Linked DNA regions of Homo sapiens: region 2 is linked to region 1. Evidence: promoter capture Hi-C in human tissues and cell types (Jung and others, 2019). All regions are on one chromosome and are shown on one strand. Each heading gives the region's core, a stretch centred on a gene start or on the middle of the fragment in contact. The rest is flanking DNA. Distances are from core to core; before and after follow the strand shown.

Evidence for each region. The method cuts DNA at HindIII sites, captures the fragments that hold promoters and counts their contacts. A contact is called where the count stands out against the background at its distance.
Region 2: a fragment that was not itself captured here is called in contact with the fragment with the promoter of SAA2 in region 1 in 3 of the 25 tissues and cell types used here (H1 embryonic stem cells, bladder and liver).

The regions. Positions count from the first base shown.
Region 1 is chr11:18,247,207-18,253,908 of GRCh38, reverse strand. SAA2 (serum amyloid A2) reads left to right here and starts at 5,241. Exons shown (of 4, transcript NM_030754.5): 1 at 5,241-5,306; 2 at 5,894-5,988. The coding sequence starts at 5,898. SAA2-SAA4 (SAA2-SAA4 readthrough) reads left to right here and starts at 5,241. Exons shown (of 6, transcript NM_001199744.2): 1 at 5,241-5,306; 2 at 5,894-5,988. The coding sequence starts at 5,898. It also overlaps the pseudogene RNA5SP333. The HindIII fragment of the contact is 6,944 bases long and covers 1-6,702 here.
Region 2 is chr11:18,147,075-18,153,762 of GRCh38, reverse strand. It overlaps the pseudogene MRGPRX12P. Among named protein-coding and RNA genes, the nearest start is that of MRGPRX3, 18 kb to the right of the region's middle. The HindIII fragment of the contact is 6,709 bases long and covers 1-5,799 here.

The DNA.
Region 1 (6,702 bases), core at 3,992-6,491:
AACCAAAGGTGTGGGTTTTTCCCCCCACACACCAAGCAGCAGACACCAGGAGTGTCCTCCAATGCAGTTCCAACACTACCTACCTGGAGACAGTGTCAGATCCCACAGGTTGGGGGCTCAGTCCCCAAGACCTCCCCCTCTTTCTCCCCAGTTGCAAGTCTGGGCCTCTGGAACTTCTGACTGACTGGCTTCAAGTTGGGGTTCCCATGACCCCCTCTTTGGGTTCGATTAATTTGCTAGAGTGACTCACATAACTCAGGGAAACACATTTGCTGGTTTATTTATAAAGGATATTATGAAAGATACAGATGAAGAGATGTGGAGGGCGAGGTAAGGGGAAAGGGGCGTGGAGCTTTCATGATCTCTCTGGGTGTGCCACTCTCTAGGAAGTGTTCACTCTCCAGATAGTGTTCAGCTATGTGGAAACTCTCTGAACCCTGTCCTTCTGGGTTCTTATGGAGGCTTCATTACATAGGCATGATTGGCAACCATGAAGAAATGTGATTGGACAAAAAGCATATGGTATAAACCCAGCAAGGCTTGTCTGTTCAGACTTGGCGTTTCTGTGCAGCATTCCTTCCTCTAGGGTATGAGGCAAGGCCCTTTCTGGAATGAGAGTCTTTTGACCCACAATCAAATTAGAGTCCTGCTTTGGGCAGGTGGAAGAAGGACAGGAGAAGGTCATAGACAGAGATTCTGTTTACTGAGGCCTAAAGTGCCCAACAATATAACAAGGAGTTAGGATCCAGGAGCTGCAGATGAAAAGCAAAATATATGGCTGGGCGCGGTGGCTCACACCTGTAATCCCAGCACTTTGGGAGGCTGAGGCCGGTGGATCACCTGAGGTCAGGAGTTTGAGACCAGCCTGGCCAACATGGTGAAACCCCGTCTCTACTAAAAATGCAAAAATTAGCCGGGCATGGGGGCAGGCACCTGTAATCCCAGCTACTCGGGAGGCTGAGGCACGAGAATCGCTTGAACCTGGGAGGCAGAGGTTGCAGTAAGCAGAGATCGCGCCACTGCATTCCAGCCTGGGCAACAAAAACAGACTCGGTCTCAAAAAAAGGAAAAGATATATATACATATATAAAGATAAATATATATATATGTGTGTGTGTATATATCTAAACACTACAGCTCTTACTTTTTTAATTGACTTAACTTTTCATTGACTTAACTTCTCTTTTTTTTTTTTTGAGATGGAGTTTCGCTCTTGTGGCCCAGGCTGGAGTGCAATGGTGCAATCTTGGCTCACCGCAACCTCCACCGCCCGGGTTCAAGCAATTCTCCTGCCTCAGCCTCCTAAGTATCTGGGATTACAGGCATATGCCACCACACCCAGCTAATTTTGCATTTTTAGTAGAGACGGGTTTTCTCTATGTTGGTCCGGCTGGTCTTGAACTCCCAACCTCAGGTGATCCACCTGCTTCAGCCCGGCAAAGTGCTGGGATTACAGGCGTGAGCCACCGCACCCAGCTGACTTAATTTTCATAGATAACTTATTCATCATAAAGAATTAATTTATTGGCTGGGTGTGGTGGCTCACAACTGTAATTCTAGCACTTTGGGAGGCCAAGGCAGGCGGATTGCTTGAGCCCAGGAGTTCCAGACCAACCTGAGCAAAATATTTATTTTTTGTGTTTATTTACAATAAATACAAAAAGTTATCTAGGCCCAGTGGTGTGCACCTGTAGTCCCAGCTACTCGGGGGGCTGAGGTGGGAGGTTCACCTGATGCCGGAGAGGTTGAGGTTTCAGTGAGCTGAGATTGTATCACTGCACTGCAGCCTGGGTGACAGAGCCAGACTTTGTCTTAAAAAGAAAGAAAGAAAGAAAGAAAGAAAGAGAGAGAGAGAGAGACAGAGAGAGAGAGAGGGGGGGAGAGAGAAAGAGAGAGAGAAAGAAAGAAAGAAAGAAAGAAAGAAAGAAAGAAAGGAAGGAAGGAAGGAAGGAAGGAAGGAAGGAAATAAATAAATAAATAAATAAATAAATAAATAAAGAAAGAAAGAAAGAAAGAAAGAAAGAATTTGTTGCCTTCCTGATAAAAATTCCAGTGGGAAATTTTGATTCACATTGCATTTAATTTATAAATAAATTTGGGAGAATTGGTATCTTTGCTAAGCTAAAATATAATCTCTGTGGACATGACGTACATTGCCACTGTTTATCCTTTAACAGACTAAATTTTCTCTGTAAGAGGTTATTTCCTAGATAGTTAATATTTTTGGTACTACTTTGTGCTGTATTTTATAACTATTAAGGAATGTTGCAGAGAAATGCTATCAATTGTTAAAATTTTGCCATGAATACAGCAGCCTCACTGAATTCTCTTAGTAGTTCTAATAGCTTGCCATTTGATTCTAACAGGTTTTCTATGTAAAAGATGGTGTCATCTTCAAACAATGATAGTTTCATTTCTTCTCTTTCACCTCTTACCTTCCTTGTGTTTCTTTAGCATTGGGCAGGTCCTTCAGGGATATGTGAAACAGTGGCAGTAACAACCAGACATCCTGGCCTCTTTGTTTTTTTTTCCATGATGAAGTCTCACTCCGTTGCCCAGGCTGGAGTGCAGTGGCACGATCTCGGCTCACTGCAGCCTCCACCTCCCGGCTTCAAGTGATTCTCCTGCCTCAACCCCCCAAGTACTTGGGATTACAGGTACCTGCCACTACACCCGACTAATTTTTGTACTTTTAGTAGAGACAGGGTTTCACCATGTTGGCCAGGCTGGTTGAGAATTCCTGACCTCCAGTGATCCACCTGCCTCGTCCTCTCTAAGTTCTTGGATTACAAGTGTGAGCCACCACGCCTGCCATTGTGGCCTCTTTATTGGTCTTCTTGAGAATGCACCTGAAGTGTCTTAATTACACATAATGTTTGCTGTAGAGCAATGATTCTCAAACCTTTTGGTCTCAGGATCCCATTACACTATTAAAAATTATTGAATACCCCAAAGAACTTTTATTTATGGGGACTCTATTCATCAGTATTTACCATAATAGAAAGAAAAAATTTAAACATTTATCAATTCTTCAAAAAATTATCCATCTTCTATATGTTAACATAAATAATATATTTTTATGAAAAATAACCATCTTCCAAAAGAAAAAAAGTAAGAAGAGTACTATGGTTTTACCCTTTTGAAAATTTTTCATGTCTGATTTTTTTTTCATAGCTGGATTTTCCTATCTGATTCATCATCCAACCTGTTTTAATATGTTATTTAGGTTGGAGTATATGAAGAAAATTCAGCCTCACACAGATATATAGTTGAAATGGGGGAGTGTATTTTAATGGTATTTTTAGATAATTGTGGCTATTCTATATTATACCAAACTCAACAAGTGGTAGCTTCTGAAAAGTCAGTTACCATGTGGAAATCCACACTCATATCAACTAACTTGTCATATTGTGTGTACTCATGAGAAAATGAGACTGAAACATGAAAATAGTGTGTTAGCACTATTCTAAAAATAATTTTGAGATCAAAGCCTCCCTAAGGAGGGATTCTTAGGGTTCCCTGGAAAACAGTTTGAGAACTGTTGCTATAACATATTGGTATTTATCCTTTCTCAAGTCAGAAATGGTCTCTTTATTTTGTTATACATTTTCCTTATCATCAGTAGATGTTGACAATTATGAAATTCATTTTCTGCATCTAGTAAAATAAATGTACAATCCTTTTCTTTGATTACTGGTATAGTGAATTACAAAGATAGATTTTTCTGATATGAAACTCTTCTTGACTCCCTGGAATAAGCCCTGGTTAATCACGATGTGCTATTATTTTCACCTGATCTGTGCTGTACCATGTACAGCATGATGTACTATTACTGCTACCCAGTTGGAAACATTCAGCCTCTCTCTGTGAGCTCTTTTTCCCTGGGGATGTCAACTACCCTGCCTAAAATATGTGTGACTGTGTGTGTGGACCCATTCCAGCAGGTACCACTCTCAGTGGTTTTAAGGTGGCAAGATGTAGTGGGGGAGGTGGAGGTGTCAATGCATAGGTCTCAGAACAGAGTCTATAATATCATTGTTCACATTGGAGCCACGCATTTGCTGCTTATGGAGTATTTGGCCATCCTTTACTTCCTGGCCCTACCCATTTCTCAGAGATTAAAAAAAATTTTTTAAGATAATCTTGCTGTGTTGCCCAGGCTGGCCTCAAATTTCTGGGTTCAAGCAGGCCTCCTGCCTTGGCCTCCCAAGTAGCTGGGACTATAGGCACATGCCACCATGCCTGGCCCATTTCTAAATTGCTTGTTTGTTTGTTATTACAAATGCCTAGCCCTCAGGGTATGAACATGGACTGGAGAAGAAGAAACCAGAGTTGCTGCTATGTCCACCAGCCTCTCTGCATGTCCTGGCCTCAGCCCCCCTGGGCTCTGGTACTGACCCATCTCTGGCCACCATGCTCCTCCATAAGCCTCTGCAGAGCTAATCTGACCCTGTTGATGTTCTCATGAGAGAGTGATCTGCATGCCCCCTGCACCCCTCCGTGATAATACAGCAGACCAAGAGCTCTCCCACCCTTCCCTGCCTGGATGCTGGGCACGTCCCCAGCTGGGCTGCCTATTTAACGCACCACACTCTCATTCTCCCAAGGTGGGGCTCCAGGACTAGGCTGGGGCAGCAGAAAGTCCCCCTCTCTACATTGTCCTTGGCTCAGGAGCCAACTTAGAAAAAGCATTTCCAAATTGGCTAAGCCAGCGGAGCAGAGATTTTCTGTGCTGAGAAATATCAGGACATCCAGAGGGGTGGAAGGAGGCTTCCAGGGCACACATGAGATGTGGCAGGGGTAGGCTGTCCGTTTTAAAGCTTAAAGCTTTAGACATGAACTCACAGGGATTTCAGTCAGGGTCATCTGCCATGTGGCCCAGCAGGGCCCATCCTGAGGAAATGACCGGTATAGTCAGGAGCTGGCTGAAGAGCTGCCCTCACTCCACACCTTCCAGCAGCCCAGGTGCCGCCATCACGGGGCTCCCACTGGCATCTCTGCAGCTGCACTTCCCCCAATGCTGAGGAGCAGAGCTGATCTAGCACCCTGTCCATTGCCAAGGCACAGCAAACCTCTCTTGTTCCCATAGGTTACACAACTGGGATAAATGACCCGGGATGAAGAAACCACCGGCATCCAGGAACTTGTCTTAGACCAGTTTGTAGGGGAAATGACCTGCAGGGACTTTCCCCAGGGACCACATCCAGCTTTTCTTCCCTCCCAAGAGACCAGCAAGGCTCACTATAAATAGCAGCCACCTCTCCCTGGCAGACAGGGACCCGCAGCTCAGCTACAGCACAGATCAGGTGAGGAGCACACCAAGGAGTGATTTTTAAAACTTACTCTGTTTTCTCTTTCCCAACAAGATTATCATTTCCTTTAAAAAAAATAGTTATCCTGGGGCATACAGCCATACCATTCTGAAGGTGTCTTATCTCCTCTGATCTAGAGAGGTAAGCAGGGTCGGGCCTGGTAGTACTTGGATGGGAGAACACCTGGGAATACCAGGTGCTAAAGGCTTTAAGAATAAAAAATAATGATCCTGCTTTGTGTTTATCCCATGTTGAGTTCTGTGCGGGGCAGAGGGAACACACGGTAAATGCGTTATGGGGAATTATAGGCTACTTGAGGGAGTGACAGTCTGGTGGTAACTCCTGCCTTCCTCCATCAGTGCCACATTGGCATCCTCTTATGCAGTCAGGCTTCAGGGCTGATGGGTTCAGAACCGAGGGCTTCTGGCTCTGAGTGAGGTCCTGCTGCAAGGTTTCCTAGATGAGCCACTGAGACTCTAATAAGATCCAGTGGAAATAACCAGGCTCTCGTCGGAATATAAGTCCCAAGGGAAGCTGTGCCAGTCTTGTGGGCGACTGCCTGACTTCTCCTTTCATTTCAGCACCATGAAGCTTCTCACGGGCCTGGTTTTCTGCTCCTTGGTCCTGAGTGTCAGCAGCCGAAGCTTCTTTTCGTTCCTTGGCGAGGCTTTTGATGGTAAGGCTTCAGAAGGTTTGCAGGATTTCTGAAGAGAAACATCGCCCTGGACCTGATAAACTGGGGAAAATGATGCTTTCGGAAGGCTGCTTTTGAACCACAGAGTTGCTAGTGTCTGCGTTGCTGAGGCCTGCCAGGAACTAGGGTTTGCTGGGTTGCCTGTCTCGAGTCTTTCAGAGCTGCTGGGAATATCCCCTTTCCCCGTAGTGCAGCTTCTCAGGATGTGTTAAGTGGATGGATCACATTTCAGAAGCCGCTGCAAGGTGTATCAAAAACACATCTCCTGAGCCGTAAGGGACGGGGCATCCAGTAACAACGCACACGGGGTATTTTTGGGCTTCCTTAAGATTTGAGCCGCTGCCTTAGGTTGTGCTGCCCAATGTGCCTGGGGAGCTGCTAAACAGATTAGAGAGTCGAGGATTGTTGTCAGTTACTCAGAGAAAGAACAATCATCCTTTCCAGGAGCACCTGAGCTGTTTGTTTTGAGTAGAAGATGCAAAATAAGGCCTGCAATTGGTATAAAATGTCCCTCAGCATAAATCGCATAGGAGTATGACTAAGGCTGTTGACTCTTCTGTCTTCTTTCTCCTTCCTCCTTCGATTTCCTAGTTGGATAATGTACAGGGCTCTTTAGCCTCGCTCTGTCAGGGGCTCCCTTCCTGGTTTGTTCTGTTTCCATTCTTCCTTCTCCAGCCTTCTTGACAAGAGCTGGGA
Region 2 (6,688 bases), core at 1,196-3,695, 97 kb after region 1:
GGAAGGCAAGCAGCAGGGACGGGGCCCAGAGCAGGGCACACAGGACTGCTGACAGGTGTGTGGGGCGACGGCAGTGGTACCAGATGGGCCACAGGGCAGATATGCAGTGTTTGATGCTGATGGTGCTTAGCATGCTCAGCCCTGCAAGGTAGGAAAGGATCATCACAGCATTGAAGAAGCTAGGAAAGTAGATGGAGATGGAAGAGAAAGTGCTGATGAATTACATCGGGGAATGTATAATGTGGCCGCTGAGGAAGAGGTAGTCCGTCTGGCCAGGTTGAGCATGTAGATAGAGAATGTGTTCTTGGGCACATGGAAGCCCAGGAGCCAGAGCACAACCGCGTTTCCTGCCAGCCCATCCAGGGCAATGATGCACGTCAGTAAGTTTGGGATCAGGGTCTCCAAGTCACAAGTTCAAGAAAGGTTCTTTTCATTTCCATTCATTGATGTGAGTTTTGTCCTCCAAACTGGGATGGTTGGATCCACGCTCCAAAACCCTTCACTGGTGCCTAGGGAAAGGCAAGGAGATTTGAGCTCCAGCTGTGTGATCTCTAATTCTCAAGACCACCCTGCAATGTGTGAATTACTGTTCCCATTTTTCAGAAGAGAAAAATTGGGGCATATGGAGAATAACCAATTAAAATATCAGGAGGCCTTGGATCTGGTTTCAAACCAGTTCTTGCTGACACTAAAGCCTGGGCTCTCTCTATTGCAACAAGGTTCTCTACTCACATGGAAATATTCTTTGATCAAAACCTCTCCATTCAACCAGCTAGGGCTATGGGCCTGAGCATTACTCTGGACTGGGCCAGAAATTTTCTCAGGTGCAGGAATTCAGAAAGACAAAAAGGTGACTCTGACACCTCCATGACTAACAGTGGTGTATCCATGGAGGAAAAAGATCATGATTAAGGGACATGAAAGGAATGTAGCGTTTTGCTGGGACAGATGTAAGGATGGCTGGGCCTGGTAGGCTAGAAAGGGCTCAGCATGTCAGTCACTGAAGACAGTGAGGTAAGAGGTGGGACTTGATTCTGGAGCCAGGGACTTAGACATCAGACCAAATTGAAGACTAGCTAAAACAAGGCCAGGGTGAAAGCAGCTTTCCACAGGACATGGCCACCAGTATGCCACTGAGGTAGGAGGTGTGACTCAACTCTGGAGGTGAGGACTCTGACATTGGACCAGATTGAGGACTAACTAAAACAGGGCTGGGTGGAAGCAGTTTTCCATAAGAATGCCCACCAGTGTGCCATGTCAGTTTACTATGGCCATGGTGACATCTAGAAATTATCACTTTTTTCCATGGCAACTACCTCATGACCTGGAAGTTACCACTCTTATCCTAAAAATTTCTGCATAAACTGCCCCTTAATTTGTGTATCACTAAAAGTGGGCATAAATATGACTGCAGAACTGCCCCTGAGCTGCTACTCTGGACACACTGTTTGTGGGGTAGCCCTGCTTGGCAAGGAGCAGTACCTCTGCTGCTTTAATAAAACTTGCTATCTAACACCACTGGCTTACCCTTGAATTCTTTTCTGTACAAAGCCAAGAACCTGCTTGGGCTAATCCCCAGGAAGGAGCACCACTTTTTATATTCCCAGTGCCTAGCTCCATGTAAGGCACACTATATTCTCCACAAACATTTATTCAGTGAGTGAATGCATGAATGAGGAGCCTAATGGTAGTGGCAGATTTGAGTTAAATAGAAAATAAAAATGAAAGCACAATTAAAGGTATCAGAACACATATATGCATAAGATGAAGAAAATTTCATTCATCAGAATTCTATTTGTGGACAGCTCTGTCTGTGTTAAAAAGAATTACCTATGTGAGCCTAAATATCTGATCACTGATGTGACTTTGAAATGAGGACTCGGTGTTGGCTTTGCTGAGCACCTAGAAGCATTTTGGTATACAGCGTTGAGGTAGGGTGTGGGTCTGAGCTGAATTGCTCAGCAATATACAGGAGGAAAAAGTAAGTGAGCGTGAGGTCTGATTGTCACTGAAGGAGGCAATTGAAATGTGGAAATAGACCTGGAGAACTTCTAAGTGGTGTGCTGGGTGTGCATAACACAAACCTACTTCATTCTCTCTCCCAGATCTTGGGTAGAATTTCTTTTGCTAATGCAAACTTTTGTTTCAGAGGAGTTCCTGAGGGGAACCAGAAAAATTTCAGGGCTTGGAATGTAAAGAGACATGCTCATGCAGATTTTAACTGAAGAAAGAGGACTAGCTTCCATCTGGGTGAATAACAGTAACCAGTTGAGTATTTATTAGGTATTATCCCTCTTAATCTTTTCAAGAGCCTAGGAAGTAAGAAGAATTAGTAATATTCCCATTTTACAGGAGATGACAAAGGAAGACATAAAGGATGTGTAATTATTTCTTAGTCTCACACGATGTGGATTAGAACCCAGCAGGGCTGCCTCAGAGTTTATCTTTTTTGCCAACCCTTTGGATCCAGCACCACTGTGTGTTGCTTACACATCACTGTGTGGGAAAGCAGAGGACATTGTAATTCCCAATATAAATCCAAGATGGTAGTCAAAACTGTGGACTGAAAAAAGTAACGTAAGCAAACTCTGGAGACAATAAGAAACCAACCTAATATCTAACAAATGAGAGTGAAGGGAAACCAATTAGGAGCACAATAAGGAAATCAGAGACCCTTTCCTTCCTCATGAAGTCAAGCTTTCCTCTGGAATCCTGAGGAGCCACAGGCGTAGAAAGCATCCAAGTGGAAACAAAATGCATCCTTCCTCAGGTGTACAGAGAGATATCAAAAGTGAGTGCATCCATCCTGAGCTGTCTTAGAGAAACAAGCTGCCACAGCCTTGGGCCAGAAAGGGAAATGGAAGGAAAACTGTGATCCCCACTCAGGGCACTTAACAGTTTGTGCATCTATATTTAGGGTATATATTTGATATACCGTATTTAACATTTGAAACATTTGTCTTCCTCATTAAACCTGAAGCTCCATAGGGAGTAAGCCATGCCTGTTTTTGTTCACTGTAGTATCACCAACATTTAGCATGTGATATGGTTTGGCTCTGTGTCCCTACCCAATCTCATCTTGAGTTGTAATCCTCATGTGTGGAGGGAGGGAGCTGGTTGGACATGATTGGATCATGGGGCAGGATTTCCCCCTTGCTGTTCCCATGATAGCAAGTGAGTTCTTACGAGTTCTGGTTGTTTCAGTGTCTGGCACTTTCCCATTCTCTCTCTCTCTCTCTTTCTCTCTCCTGCTGCCATGTAAGGCATGACTTGCTTCCCTTTCACCTTCCTTCATGACTGTAATTTTCCTGAGACCTCCCAAATCATGTGGAACTGTGAGTCAATTAAATCTCTCTTCTTTGTAACTTACTCAGTCTCAGGTAGTATATTTATAGCAGTGTGAGAACAGACTAATACAGCATGTGTTCCTTAAAGACTATCTATTGTACTATTCTCATTTGACATAAGAAGGAGTTGAGGCTACAAGAGTCAGACTTGTTTTTCCAATATCACAAAGAGCAGGCCCCATGTCAACATCCCTGTATGAGACTTATGTACTGTTCTCTGCCCCATCATTCATTATTTCTGAGGAGCTCCTGAAAAACCTTGATGTGAGCAAAAAATCTCAGAGATAATCAAGGGTTTCAGAGACTGCCAAGTTGCCCCAATCTCCATTCTCCTCTTCAGTGACATAACAATTCTGAGCATTTAAGAGCAGCACAAGGACACATGTCCCAGTTTTCCTTGATGCTGGATGACATCATAAGACCAGGTTCTTGTCAGTGGAAGGTGAGCAGATGTGATGTAAGGAAGTCCGGGCTCGTGGGATCAATGGAAGAAGTACAGGCTCCCCTTTCCCTCTTTCTTTTTCCATCAGGCTAGAATGCTGATGTGGGTGGGAACCAGTAAGACCACAAAGAATGAGGACTCCACTCTATGGACTGGGAAGCAGCAGTTTTTGGAGTCTTAATGTATGATGCCTTGAAGCCTCCAACTTATATCTAAGATACATTCATTCCTGGGCATTACAGGCAATTCATTCTTGGACCCCTGCATGCACCACAATCTCCAGATGTTCAGTTTCCTTATAGAAAATGGCATAGCATTTATATATAACCTACCCACATTCTCCTATATACTTTAAATGATTTCTACTTTACTAATAATACCTAAGACCATCTAAATGCTGTATAAATAGTTGTTATATTTTTTAGGGAAGAAAGGATAAAAATGTCTGTACCTATTCAGTACAGATGTCACTATCCTTTTTTATTTTCCTTTTCTGACCATTTTTGATTTGCTATTGGGTGAATCCCTGGATGTGGAAACTATGGATATGGAGAATCCACTGTACTTTCTTGTTTAAGATATTTTGATTTAATAAAGATATCTTTATTAGAACAACTAAGCTTATACTCAAACTAAAAGAAATATATTTTCTCTTAAAAATTATCTTCCAATTAGTCATTTTTAATTAATGTGGGTGTTTGTCCATAAAATTGACACTAGAGAGAGAAGGTGGAAACAGAAAAAAAAAAAATAGATGGAGCTGTGATGATACATGATTCAATGACATTTAGATTGAGAAAAACCCCAGAAAGTAGGAGGATATAAGAAGGTCAGAGAGATAGTCTCATTTTCCCTAAGGATTTTTTGTCCCTTCTTTTCTACCCTATTTGGCGTTCCAAGATGGTGGCTTCTATGTACCTCATAAATGAGATTCTTTTCCTTCTGGTTTCTGGTTCAACTGAGCAACTAGGAGACACTAGCAGGAGACTGGAGGGCAGGAGGACAGCAATTTTGGGATTTCTGGCTCTCTGCCTGTGATGCTGTGTGATGGTGATGCAGGGTTCTCCACCTGCCTCATCCTCTCCCACCTTTACAGTTACAGCTACAGCTATGCTTTTAATGGTAACTGCTCTTTTCCTGTCCCTGTAAGCCTAGGGGAGGAAATAGTGTTTATTGCTTGCCTTAGGTTGCATCGCCATGCATTGTCACTTTCCTTTAAGCCAGAATTTTTTTTTGTAAGTAATCCCGGCGTAAAATACTCCTCAATTATTTCATGTTGGACCATTTGTTTCTTCCTGGATAACTATTATTATTATTTCAGAATAACTTTGAAAGCAAGGAATGAAGTAAAACCTGGGTTTAGAGCAGTTTAGCTCTGGGAAGCAATGCCTGCATGTCTCTTTGCTCCATAATGAATGTAAGAGGCAGCATTCTCTCCATGACAGAAGATTTGAATGGTTGAAATAGAGGAGAGGCCATGGAGAGATAGATAGTAGGGAGAAAAGTCTGTTTGACCCCATTTGGAACTCCTACAATCATGTTTGCCAGCACTCAGTTTCAAGAAAGAAGCTTCATGCCTCCTGACTTTTCCTCAAGCAAGCTAATGACTCCCTGCATGTAGCATCCTGATATGGTTTGGCTGTGTCCCCACCCAAATCTCATCTTGAATTGTAGTTCCCATAGCGCCCACATGTCAGGGGAGGGACCCAGTGGAAAGTATTGAATCATGGGTTGGGTCTTCCCTCTGCTGTTCTCGTGATAGTGAATAACTCTCACGAGATCTGATGGTTTTATAAAGGGCCGTTCTCCTGCACATGCTGTCCTGCCTGCCACCATGTAAGATGTGCCTTTGCTCCTCCTTCATGATTGTGAGGCCTCTGAAACTATGAGTCCATTAAACTTTTTCTTTATGTATTACCCAGTCTCAGGTATGTCTTTGTTAGTAGTATGAGAACCGACTAATACACACCCTAAGGAGAAAACACAGGAATGTGAATTTATAGCAAAAACCCATAACTGACTTTGGAAAGAAGACAATTCTTGATATATACCCTTACATTTGCTCCTTCTTCTATCTAGAAGTAGACAGCCATCCTGTGCTAAAGTAGAAGAGCCTTTCTGGGATTTAGTGACTCCAGAGGACCCTTCTGTGTCCTGCAATTTCAGAGATGCCTTTAGGAGCTGCACGGAAATTTGGTGACCAAGCCAGGCTTATCAAGATGCTGGACAGCTCTGTGATTTCCTTTACAGGGAATGGGTGCAAATTGGAGACCACAGCCATTTGAGGCAGAATCCCTAGTTGAGGTGTTTCTTGGCCTCTGTCCCATTTTCACTCACATATCAGCCTCTCCCATCCCATTTCATCTGGTCCACCTCTTCGTTAGTAATTGTTGTTCTAGAGCACTTAATTGCCAACTGTGAGCTTAGGTATCAGTGTCAAGCAATGTAAGCTTGTGATGTGAGTCTTTAAACAAAATAATATGTAGACCATAGAGTCATCTAAGTCTCATAATGGACTGATACCACTTATTTTAGTGTTTGTTTCTCTTTTTTAAAAAGTAAAGAAATGCTTTTACACTGTTGATGGGAAAGTGAATTAGTTCAACCATTATGGAAGACAGTGTGGCAATTCCTCAAAGATCTAGAACAAGAAATAACATTTGACCCAACAATCCCATTACTGGGTATATACCCAAAGAAATATAAATCATTCTATTACAAAGATACATGCACACATATGTTCATTGCAGCATGAGATCATGTCATTTGCAGGGACATGGGTGGAGCTGGCAGCCATTATCCTCAGCAAACTAATGCAGGAACAGAAAACCAAACACCACATGTTCTGACTTCAAGTAGGAGCTGAACAATGAGAACACATGGACACAGGGAGTGGAGC